Regions from separate parts of the Homo sapiens genome. Here region 2 is linked to region 1. Evidence: promoter capture Hi-C in human tissues and cell types (Jung and others, 2019). All regions are on one chromosome and are shown on one strand. Each heading gives the region's core, a stretch centred on a gene start or on the middle of the fragment in contact. The rest is flanking DNA. Distances are from core to core; before and after follow the strand shown. Region 1 holds the start of ZNF69 (zinc finger protein 69). Region 2 overlaps ZNF20 (zinc finger protein 20).

Evidence for each region. The method cuts DNA at HindIII sites, captures the fragments that hold promoters and counts their contacts. A contact is called where the count stands out against the background at its distance.
Region 2: a fragment that was not itself captured here is called in contact with the fragment with the promoter of ZNF69 in region 1 in 11 of the 25 tissues and cell types used here (H1 embryonic stem cells, IMR-90 fibroblasts, bladder and 8 more).

Annotation. Positions count from the first base shown.
Region 1 is chr19:11,885,628-11,891,405 of GRCh38, forward strand. It overlaps ZNF69 (zinc finger protein 69), which reads left to right and starts at 2,155. Exons shown (of 4, transcript NM_001364730.1): 1 at 2,155-2,359. The coding sequence starts at 2,297. RefSeq lists an enhancer at 2,352-2,401. The HindIII fragment of the contact is 10,336 bases long and covers 953-5,778 here.
Region 2 is chr19:12,126,345-12,132,603 of GRCh38, forward strand. ZNF20 (zinc finger protein 20) reads right to left here. Exons shown (of 4, transcript NM_021143.4): 4 at 5,006-6,259. The coding sequence ends at 6,243. It overlaps ZNF625-ZNF20 (ZNF625-ZNF20 readthrough (NMD candidate)), which reads right to left. Exons shown (of 8, transcript NR_037802.1): 8 at 5,006-6,259. Among named protein-coding and RNA genes, the nearest start is that of ZNF20, 11 kb to the right of the region's middle. The HindIII fragment of the contact is 9,523 bases long and covers 1-6,259 here.

The DNA of each region.
Region 1 (5,778 bases), core at 905-3,404:
AGAGCATAACAAAGGCCTTGCAAAGACTTACCGCTTTATCCAATGAATTAGCTAAAATTTCTGGAGTCAATGACCCTATTTCAAGATGGCTAGGAAAGTAGTTCAGTCAATAAAGAATCATAGCCTCAATACTTATTTCTTTTACAGTCGTAACAGGTGTACTTATTCTTGTTAGGCGTTGTGTCATACCATGCATCCGTAGGCTAATACAAAGGATTGTACGAACAGCATTTACTGAAACCTCCCTTAGTTCTCCTCCACCTTATTCAAGTAAGCTTTTCCTTTTAAAAGATCAAATCAAACAGCAAAGCCAAAACACGTTAAAAAAGTTTAAAGAGAAAAAATCATAAGAAAATTAAAAGGGAGGAATTGTAACATACAGTAAATTTCTCTGAGTTTCTTTTTTTTTTTTTTTTTGAGACGGAGTCTCACTCTGTCACCCAGGCTGGAGTGCAGTGGCGTGATCTCGGCTCACTGCAAGCTCTGCCTCCTGGGTTCATGCCATTCTCCTGCCTCAGCCTCCCGAGTAGCTGGGACTACAGGCGCCCACCACCACGACTGGCTAATTTTTCGTATTTTTTAGTAGAGACGGGGTTTCACCATGTTAGCCAGGATGGTCTCGATCTCCTGACCTCGTGATCTACCCGCCTCAGCCTCCCAAAGTGCTGCGATTACAGGCGTGAGCCACCGCGCCTGGCCTCTCTGAGTTTCTCTTCAAAGACTTAGCCTGCTAACTTCCTTGTCTTTTGTTCTCCAGCTCAACTTTCCTGTTCCTCCTTGCCCCTAGTTACTGTAAAACAGCCTACCCCCTTCCCGTCAGCTCTAATCAATAACTCACATCTGTTCCCTTGGTTACCTGTACCCATTGTTCCCCCGAAACTGCACGTCTCACACGCTCCATCTCTGTACCTCACGTTCCCCTCTCCTTCTATATTTAGAAAAATACGTACAAGTAGCCAGTCGGGTCAGCTCAGATTGTGTGGTCGAACCCCAGCCCATGAAGGAGTGACACAGAGATAGGGACCGCATTAAGGATAAAAAAACCCCCGGTGACCTTTGTTCTCTGTGCTCTTGTGATCTTGATTGACACAAGTGGCACACTTCTGCAGAAGTAAATTGCCTTGCTAAACAAATGAAACTTTCCCCTAAGTGCTAGTTTTACTTCGTGGGACCAAGAATTTATTCCTAAAGCATTTTATATCCGACAGAGATATTCATATATATAAAGAAAATGTGGGCCAGGCGCGGTGGCTCACGCCTGTAATCCCAGCACTTTGGGTGGCCGAGGCGGGTGGATCACTTGAGGTCAGGAGTTCAAGACCAGTCTGGTCAACATGGTGAAACCTTGTCTCTACTAAAAATACAAAAAATTAGCCAGGCGCGGTGGCATGTGCCTGTAATCCTAGCTGCTGGGGAGGCTGAGGCAGGAGAATCACTTGAACCCAGGAGGCGGAGGTTGCAGTGAGTGGAGATTGCACCACTGCACTCCAGCCTGGGGGGACAGAGCGAGGCTCTGTCTCAAAAAAAAAAGAAAAGAAAATGTGTGAAGATCAGGCTAGAGACAGAAATGTTTGGGAGCGTCACCTGGATAAAGGGTTCATGAAGTTGGCAGTTTATTTAGGTCAAAAGCTTAACTTAACCCCTGGAGAGAGTTTCCTGCTGGTGAAAATGAAGATCTGGAAGGAGGAAGCATTTTCACACTGTGAGGAGGGGATGGGGGTGTGAGAGCAAGTCTTAGCCATGCCTCATCCCCAGTTGCGGCCCGCTCCAAGACATATGCCTCTCCTCCTGGCGCAGTCGTGTCTGGCCTGGTCTCGGTTCCCCTGCTGCTCTGAGGCAGGAGATGGCTCCTGTGGACACTGAATCTGAAATTCCCTGCACACTCCTGTGACCCCATGCAGAACGAAGGAGCAGGGACAGTCCCTTGAGTGAGGAAGACGCTAGTGTTCTCCTCTATCAATAGCAAGTTTGGCTGAAATGCAAATATCCAATAACCAGAGTGCAGGAAGGAGCTCGCCCTTGGAAAAGCTGTGGTCAGAATCCGTCTGTCTGGCTCTGCAGGGCCCGATACCCAGGGCTTCCGCTGTCACTCAGACATGGGGGGCGGGGCCTAGCATTCCATCCAATCAGAGGCATTGTGGCGGGTCCCTGCCCACTGTTCCTCCAGACACTGAGGGGGTCGCATTCCTTACCTCACCTTTGTCCCTGCGCGGGCTGCGGCTGGGATCCGGTCTTTCCAGCCCCGAGAGGGACCTGGTTCCTCTGCCCAGGCTTCTGTCACTCTGTCACCTACGCTATGCCCTGCTGTAGTCACAGGAGGTGTAGAGAGGACCCCGGGACATCTGAAAGCCAGGAAATGGTGCGTGTCTGGGGCCGGGTGTCGTGAGACGGGGGAGGGGCTGCCTGGACCGACCGGAACCGACTGTGGCGAGACCCTGGCTTTCCTGCGGGCGACTTTGGGATCTGGGACCGAGTCCTCCTGGAGCCGCTCGGCCCTCGGTCCCCTCGACTGCTCGGTGTGGCTGGGCCGGTAGCCGGGACACCAGGCGTCCTGTCTCGTCTCTGCGCGGCGACTGCGGTTCCAGAGCCCTCTATGGGCAGCTCCGCGCCCGCAGCCACGCGTCTACCCAGATTGTGCGGGGGCCACGGGAGGGTCATGTGGGTGATCCCGACTCGGGTGTGGGGTTCGTGCTTGGGAGGAGCAGCGGTCTGTGGGGCCCCCAGTGTCCACTTTTTCTCCTGTTAAAAATTAAACTGAGGAACGTTAACAAAGAGTTCATTTGAGCAAACAGCGATTCACGAATGAGACACACCCAGTCCTGGCTTGTGGTTTGTCAACGGAAAAAGCCAAACTATGTAAAATAAAGAAGTTTATTCGGAGCCGAATAGGAGAGACCTTGGCCGAGGGAAAAACAACCCCAAGAAGCCTGGAGTAAGTGGTCCCGAGGCGGCTCAAGACAGTTTGGTTTTATTCATTTTAGAGAGACAGGAATTGCAGGGAAAATCATGAATTAGTGCCTGGAAGGTGTAATTTCCTTAGGCAGAAAGGGAGGGACCTGGCCGGGCACGGTGGCTCACGCTTGTAATTCCAGCACTTTGGGAGGCCAAGGCGGGCGGATCACCTGAGGTCAGGAGTTCAAGACCAGCCTGGCCAACATGGTGAAACCCCGTCTCTACTAAAAATATAAAAAAGAAACTAGCCGGGCGTGATGGTGGACGCCTGTAATCCCAGCTACTCGGGAGGCTGAGACAAGAGAATTACTTGAATCCAGGAGACAGGTTGCAGTGAGCCCACACAGTGCCACTGCACTCCAGCCTCAGCACAGAGTGCGACTCTGTCTCAAAACAAAAACAAAAACAAAAAACAGAAAGGGCGGGACCTGTGGAAGGGGGGTTAGAAGGCACAGGTGGTTGAGGGATTCTGTAGGTGGCAGCTGGTTGAGAGTGTGAAGCTTTGTCTAAAGTTTGGAGGAGGTAGGAAGGAATGCTGAAGGAAGGGGGTCTGTTATCTGCCACTTGATTCCATCCCAGCCAAAAAACAGACCTGTTTCTCTAGATTTTATGAATTCTAAGGTGTGACTTACCCTTGTCTTGCGTGGCCTTAGGTCTTGTTTGTAATTTGGTATCTTCTTGCCACAAGGAGTCTGTTTTTCCAGTCAGATAATGTCTGTTTTTACATGAATGTGCGTCAGTTGCTGCATGTAAACTCCTAAAGGGAGAGGGTATAAGGAGGCCTGTCTCACCTCCCATCCTGTCATACAGAGGCACTCAATTTTCAGGGTTTTTTGGGGGTTCCCTTGGCCAAGAGCCGGTCACTTCACTTACCTGGGAAGGTACTTTGTTTTTGTTTTTATTTAAAACAGAGTCTCCTTCTGTCACTCAGGCTGGAGTGCAATGGCTCAATCTCGGCTCACTGCAACCTCCACCTTCCGGATTCAAGCAATTCTCTAGCCTCAGCCTCCTGAGTAGCTGGGATTACAGGCACGCACCTGAAGGGGGCCTGCCCCTCCACCCCTGTGGGTGTTTCTTGTCAGGTAGAGACAAGAGACTGAGTAAAGAAATAAGACACAGAGACGAAGTATAGGGAAAGAACAGTGGGCCCAGGGGACCGGCGCTCAACATGCGAGGACCTGCACCGGCGCTGGTCTCTGAGTTCCCTCAGTATTTATTGATCACTATTTTTACTATCTTGGCGAGGGGAGTGTGGCAGGACAACAGGGTGATGGTGGGGAGAAGGTCAGCAGGGAATCATGTGAGCAAAGGAACCTGTATCATGAATAAGTTCAAGGAAAGATACTGTGCCTGGATGTGCAGGTAGGCCAGATTTATGTTTCACTTTATGCAAATATCTCAGTGTAGCAAAGAGTAACAGAGCAGTATTGCTGCCAGCATATCTTGCCTCCCACAGGGCGGTTTTCTCCTATTTCAGAATAGAATGAATGGTCGGCTTTACACAGAGACATTCCATTCCCCGGAACGAGCAGGAGACAGAAGCCTTCCTCTTATCTCAACTGCAAAGAGGCCTCCCTCTTTCACTATTCCTCCTCAGCACAGACCCTTTAGGGGTGTCAGGCTGGGGGATGGTAAGGTCTTTCCTTTCCCACGAGGCCGGATCTCAGGCTGTCTCAGTGGGGGAAAACCTTGGACAATACCCAGGCTTTGTTGGGCAGAGGTCCCTGCGGCTTTCCGCAGTGCACTGTGCCCCTGGTTAACCGAGAATGGAGAATGGTGATGACTTTTACCAAGCATACTGCCTACAAACATATTGTTAACAAGGCACATCCTGCACAGCCCTAAATCCATTAAACCTTGATTCAATACAGCACAGGTTTCTGTGAGCACAGGGTTGGGGCTAAAGTTACAGATTAACAGCATCTCAAAGAAGAACAATTTTTGTTAGTACATACCAAAATGGAGTTTCTTATGTCTTCCTTTTCTATGTAGACACAGTAACAATCTGATCTCTCTTTTCCCCACATGCACCACCACGCCTGCCTAATTTTTGTGTTTTTAGTAGAGATGGGGTTTCACCATGTTGGCCAGGCTGTTCTCGAACTCCTGACCTCAAGTTACCTACCTGCCTCGGCCTCCCAAAGTGCTGAGATTCCAGATGTGAGCCACCTCGCCAGGCCAGAAGATAGATTTTTATTTTTAGTTTATAGGTTGAAGCCTCAGCTTTTATAAGGTACATGAGGAGACAAACCAGATAAATGCTTGATTGGTTGCAGAGATGCAGTCGCCTTATTTGGACTTGCCAGCCCGAAATAATTCAAAGGTTCAGATTTCAGTTTGAAGAGTTTATTCAAGCAGAAAGATAGCAATGGCCCATTCAGGAAAAAAAACAGACTCCAGAGAAATGGACTCAGTACTCTAAAATTAGAAGTTAAGTTCTTTCTTATATTACCAGGAAAAGAGGTCCTGATCAGACCCCAAGAGAGTTCTTGGATCTCACACAGGAAAGAATTCAAGACGAGTCACAAAGTGCAGTGAGAAGGGAGTTTGTTGAAAGCTACTCTGGGCCAGCATGATGGCTTAGATCTGTTTTCTAAGCACATTGGGAGGCCGAGGCAGGAGGATCACTTCTAGTCAGCAGTTCGAGACCAGCCTGGGCAACATAGGGAAACCCCATCTTTTCCAAAAATAACAAAAATTAGCCGGGTGTGGTGGCTTGCACCTGTAGTTCCACGTACTCGGGAGGCAAGCGTTCAAGACCCAGCTGGCCAATGCAGTGAGAGCCTGTCTGTATTAAAAAAAAAAAAAAAGAAAAGAAAGAAAGGA
Region 2 (6,259 bases), core at 770-3,269, 240 kb after region 1:
TAGGTAATGTGGGAAATGCATTAGAGCAGCAGTCCCCAACCTTTTTGGCACCAGGGACCAGTTTCGTGGGAGAAAAGTTTTTCACAGAGGAGGGTGGGGAGATGGTTTTTGGATGAAACTGTTTCACCTCAGCTCATCAGGGATTAGTTTCTCATAAGGAGCATGCAACCTAGATCTCTCACATGTGCAGTTCACAATAGGGTTATCAACCCAAGAAAATCTAATACCACTGCTGCTCTGACAGGAGGCAGAGCTTAGGCAGTAACGCTCACTCGCTTCTGCTTACCTCCCGCTGTGTGGCCTAGTTCCTAACAGGCCATGGACAGGTACCCGTCTGTACCCGAGAGTTGGGGACACGTGAATTAGAGGACACTCAGGTGGTGTTCAGTGGAGAATGGATGGCTTGTTTGCTGTGTGAGAAAATCTTCCACATATTTGGTCATAGAGATATTGCATTGTGTGAATGCACAGGAAAAACATTTTGAGTTTTTCCACTCTTAGATCCCTGTGCAATTTTGAGAAATCCAGTCACAACAGTGTGTGGATGTTAATGCCGCCCTTACCACAAGAGGGAGCTTCATTGACGTTGCCTTTCTGGAAAATGGTTCAAAGGACTTTGTTGGAAATTCTACTCTACTCTACTCTACTGTATTTATGTTATGTTATGTTGTTATGTTATGTTATGTTATGTTATGTTATGTTATGTTATGTTATGTTATGTTATTTTAGAGACAAGGTCTTGCTCTGTTGCCCAGGCTGGAGTGCAGTGTTGCAGTCTCAGCTCACTGCAACCTCTGCCTCCCAGGTTCAAGTGATTCTCCTGCTTCAGCCTCCCGAGTAGCTGGGATTACAGGTGGCCACCACCCCAGCCGGCTAATTTTTGTACTTTTAGTAGAGACAGGGTTTCACTATGTTGGCCAGGCTGGTCTAGAACTCCTGACCTCAAGTGATCCGCCCGCCTTGGCCTCCCAAAGTGCTGGGATTATAGGCATAAGCCGCCGTGCCTGGCCCCTGAAATACTTTTTAATATAGGGTGTAAGCCAGGCGCGGTGGCTCACATCTGTAATACAAATACAAATACAAAAATTAACCAGGTGTGGTAGTGCGTGCCTGTAATCCCAGCTACTCGGGAGGCTGAGGCAGGAGAATTGCTTGAACCCAGCAGGTGAAGGTTGCAGTGAGCTGAGATCGCACCACTGCACTCAAGCCTGGCGACAGAGCGAGACTCTGTCTCAAAAAAAAAAAAAGTGTGTAACAGTTGGTGAAAAGGTTCAAAAAAAAAAAGAAAAGAAAAGAAAGGTGACACTTAAATTTACATGACTTTTTTTTTTTTTTTTTTGAGACAGCGTCTTGCTCTGTCACCCAGGCTGGAGTGCAGTGGCACAATCTTGGCTCAATGCAAGCTCTGCCTCCCAGGTTCATGCCATTCTCCTGCCTCAGCCTCCTGAGTAGCTGGGACTACGGGCGCCCGCCACCACGCCCGGCTAATTTTTTGTATTTTTAGTAGAGACAGGGTTTCACCATGTTAGCCAGGATGGTCTCGATCTCCTGACCTCGTGATCTGTCTACCTTGGCCTCCCAAAGTGCTGGGATAACAGGCGTGAGCCACCGCACCCAGCCTACATGACTTAACTTTTTACCTTGTTAAACAGAGAGCAATCAACCCTGTGAACGTTATGTTCCAGATTCTGACAAGTGTGTTGAAAAAATTCTACACACTAAATGAAATAGGAGTAATGGGTGAGAGAGTGTGACCTTGAGTTTCAAGTTGGGGTAAGGGGGGCGGAAAAGAAGACAGTGTCTTGAGGTGGTGACATCTGTAGTGAGATCTGAAATGACGTGTTAGTATATGAAGTCAGGAAAGAGGATTCTGGGAAGATGGCAGAATAGGAAGTATCAAGCAGAAACTACAGGAAGCCATTTTTGTGAACTGAGTTCCTCTGCTGGGCCCTCAGAAACCAGACCTACCCCAGCGATTAGGAAATTACACCTAGGCAATCGTCATTGCCCCACACGCTACAAAGAACGTTCAGTAGACAATGGCTTGAGAAATGCGCCCAGTCCAATCTTTGGGTAAGCCAGGTGCAGAGATGTACAAAAAGACTGTCCTTGGCAAAGTTCTATGGTCACATGATGTTTGAGGCAGTTCTGCATATCATATGAGGGCCTTATTGGAGTTCTTGTGTATCTCTGCCAAGAGAGTACTGCACAGCAGAGGTCATTATTGCAACTTCCGTGCCATTTATTTATTTTGAGACAGAGTCTTGCTCTTTTGCCAGGCTGAAGTGCAGTGGCACGATCTCAGCTCACTGCAGTCTCTGCCTCCCGGGTTCAAGGGATTCCTCTGCCTCAGCCTCCTGAGTAGCTGGGACTATAGGAGCCCGCCACCACGCCCGGCTAATTTTTTGTATTTTAGTAGAGACAGGTTTCACCATGTTGGCCAGAATGGTCTCAATCTCCTGACTTCATGATCCGCCCGCCTCGGCCTCCCAAAGTGCCGGGATTACAGGCATGAGCCACTGCACCCAGCCACTTCTGTGCCATTTAATTGTTCACCAGTTGCCACAGGTCTATCTGTGTACACCTGAGTTGCTTGAGTGGTTCTAAACAAATGAATTTAACTTTCATTGTGGTGTTGAATTTTTGTATATACCTTTTATGAATTATTTTGACCGTGGGCTGACCAATATCATGAGTAAAAGATTTAAAAGGTCTAGAGGAGCCAGGCATGTTGGCTCATGCCTATAATCCCAGCACTTTGGGAGGCCGAGGCAGATGGATCGCTTGAGGCCAGGAGTTTAGAGACCAGTCTGGCCAACATGGTGAAACTCCAATTCTACAAAAAACACAAAAATTAACTGGGCATGGTGGTGTTCGCCTGTAGTGCCAGCTACTTGGGAGGTTGTGACGAGACTTGCTTGAACCTGGGAAGCAGAGGTTGCAGTGAGCTGAGATCGTGCCACTGCAATTCAGCCTAGGCAACAGAGCGACACTCTGTCTCAAAAAAAAAAAAAAAAAAGCCATAGGTAGGAAGCAAAATGTAAATAATGAGAAAAATATATATCTTAAGTTCACATTTGAAATATGTAAGAAAATTTGGTGATGCTGCAAATAAACTGAGGATTGTAATTATATAAATTACAAGTTTTTCCTGAGAAAAAACACATTTTCAACCTAAGTACATTGATCTTAAAGGATTTTTCCTTTGCTTTTTGACCTTGCTTTGTGAAAAAGTGCAAAAATAAGACATGAATAGTCAAAATAAGAATTTTTGGGCCAGGCGTGGTGGCTCACACTTATAATCCCAGCACTTTGGGAGGCCGAGGTGGGCGGATCACGAGGCCAGGAGATCGAGACCATCCTGGCTAACATGGTGAAACCCTGTCTCTACTAAAAAAAAAAATACAAAAAAATAGCCAGGCGTGGTGGCGGGCACCTGTAGTCCCAGCTACTCGGGAAGCTGAGGCAGGAGAATGGCGTGAACCAGGGAGGCGGAGGCTTGCAGTGAGCCGAGATCGCGCCACTGCCCTCCAGCCTGGGCAACAGAGCAAGACTCCATCTCAAAAAAAAAAAAAGGAATTTTTGGCCAGGCATGGTGGCTCACACCTGTAATCCTGGCACTTTGGGAGGCCGAGGCAGGTGGATCACATGAGGTCAGGAGTTTGAGACCAGCCTGGCCAACATGGTGAAACCCTGTCTACTAAAAATACAAAAAAATAGCCAGGCATGGTGGCAGGTGCCTGTAATTCCAGCTACTTGGGAGGCTGAGGCAGGAGAATCACTTGACCCCAGGAGGCAGAGGTTGCGGTGAGCCAAGATTGCACCACTGTCCTCCAGACTCTGTCTCCAAAAAAAAAAAATTCATATCTCACAAATCAAGGTATTTTCCATATGTCATCACACATAGTTAAGGTTTGGTCAGTCAGTGATTGCTTCTATGTCTGCTGGGACTGGGATTTTTACTCTAGGGAGACTGAAATAAGCTTTTGTGAAGAGAAGCACCCATGACACCTTAAAGGAAATGATCGGATTGTTCCATGCATGACTTTTCCACGATGTCATTAGCTTCATAATATTAGCATAAGAGGGTTCCTGACAAGTTTGCATCAACAGCATGTTACCAGAGAAAGAAAGACTTGATTGGAATAGTGATGCTGACTTTGTTCTTTACTGGGCAGGAAATTCAGTTTTCAAAAACATATTGGCCCCATAGGACTCAAGGTGATTTTTTTAAAAAAGTAGTAGCCAATTGTGGTGGCTCATGTCTGTAATCCCAGAACTTGGGGAGATGGAGACAGAAGAATCACATGATCCAGCAGTCAATGACCAGCCTGGGAAACAGGGAGACTCCATCTCTACAAAAAATAAATAAATAAAATCATAGTATATACCTTGATAAGAAGTGAATTTATAGATTTTAACTGAGGTATGTTATGGTTAACAATGTCCATAAATTGTAGGGAATATATCAGGGTTTAGAGAATAGTATGGTAAAAACTGGTCCAGAAGTCTGATGGCTGGCCTCCCCTCGCCAGAAGGCCGAGTCTTTTGCCCCTGAACAGGCACATGTCATACACCTGCAATGTGAGATGATGCTCTTCAGTGACCATGATGGATCAATACAAAAATAACTAATTCTTGGCAGGGCACAGTGGCTCATGCCTGTAATCCCAGCACTTTGGGAGGCCGAGGCGGGTGGATCACGAAGTCAGGAGATCGAGACCATGGTGAAACCCTGTCTCTACTAAAAATACAAAAAATTAGCCAGGCGCGGTGGCGGGCACCTGTAGTCCCAGTTACTTGGGAGGTTGAGGCAGGAGAATGGCGTGAACCAGGAAGCGGAGCTTGCAATGAGCCGAGATCGAGTCACTGCACTCCAGCCTGGGCGACAGAGCAAGACTCCGTCTCAAAAAAAAAAAAATTAAAATAAAAAAAAACCTCATTCTTTAACCATGTCTTGAAATGTGACAGAAGAAAACACTTTAAATTGCAAACATACCCCAAATTTTTCTCTTCTCACGAAATGTGACTATCTTTTAATATCTCACACATCTCACAGTCATCTATGGCTTTTGGTCATATTCATTACCACAGTATATTATTACACCCTCTTTGACGACACTTATGCCACTGGTGGTCTTTGGTCAGAAGTCACTCATAAGAACATGAGATCACCTTTGGTATTTAGAATAGATGAAAATTCATGATCCAGATAAAAACTAAGAATATAAGCATGAAAAGTAAAATCTACATGAGGAAAAATATGCCTGACATCCACATGGCAACACTGACTCACAGTGACCACCGGATAACATGGTAACATTATCAACTTGATCTAATACATGATGTTAATGGGAGGTTGTAATGTAGCTTCTTCATTAAAAAATAATAATTGTTAGTATGCAGTTGTTATAAACAGTTAATAAGCTTATTTCTAAAATACATGAACAGAAGTATTTGTTGCCAAGAAACCGCATTAGTGTTTTTAGTCAGGTATACTCATACAAAGTTAAAAACGAAGTGAGACATTACATTCAGTTGTGAATAACAGCAAATGCTTGAAATTTCCTGATAAGAGCAAGGTGGCTCTTCTCACATAAAAGCCCTTGGTGAGACCAATCACTGCACAATGCAGCAGAGGAACAAGCTCCCATCTAGTTGGTTTAATCAAGAACAGGCTCGCTAATCCGTAGAAACAACAATGCTTGCAATACAAAGTAGACCTCTTAAACCAACTCAATCTATAGAAGAGTTGGGCATCAGTGAGTATTTCCAGCCATAACAACATTTATTAGTTCTCTGGTAAACATTTTAACATTTCTGAAGAAACAGCAAAGTGGGCATGTATCTTTAATGTGGAGCACTGGGGACATATCTGGAGACCTACAACTCTGAGGAACAGAGACAAGTGATTTGGGGGATATTCTCGATTAACAAGCCAAAGAATCAGGAAAATGGGCTGGAAGCGGGTAGCCACACACCTCTCTCCCTGTGTGGGGCCTCTAATATGTGACTGATGCCTTCCTTTTCTGTGCCTTTGAAATCTCATGCAAGATTGGCTATAGGTGAATTGTATTACGAAACCATCCAAGTTCTTCTAGATTTTATTGTCCTATCGCAAGTCTCTCTTCTCAATTCAAAAAGCAGTTATCCAGAGGTTCTTTCACCACTCTCTTTTCTTGTGTTTCAAAGGAAGTGGGACAACAGAAAGCTTCTCCCGTTGCTTCCACTAAAAGGATTTCTCATCTATTAATGGTAT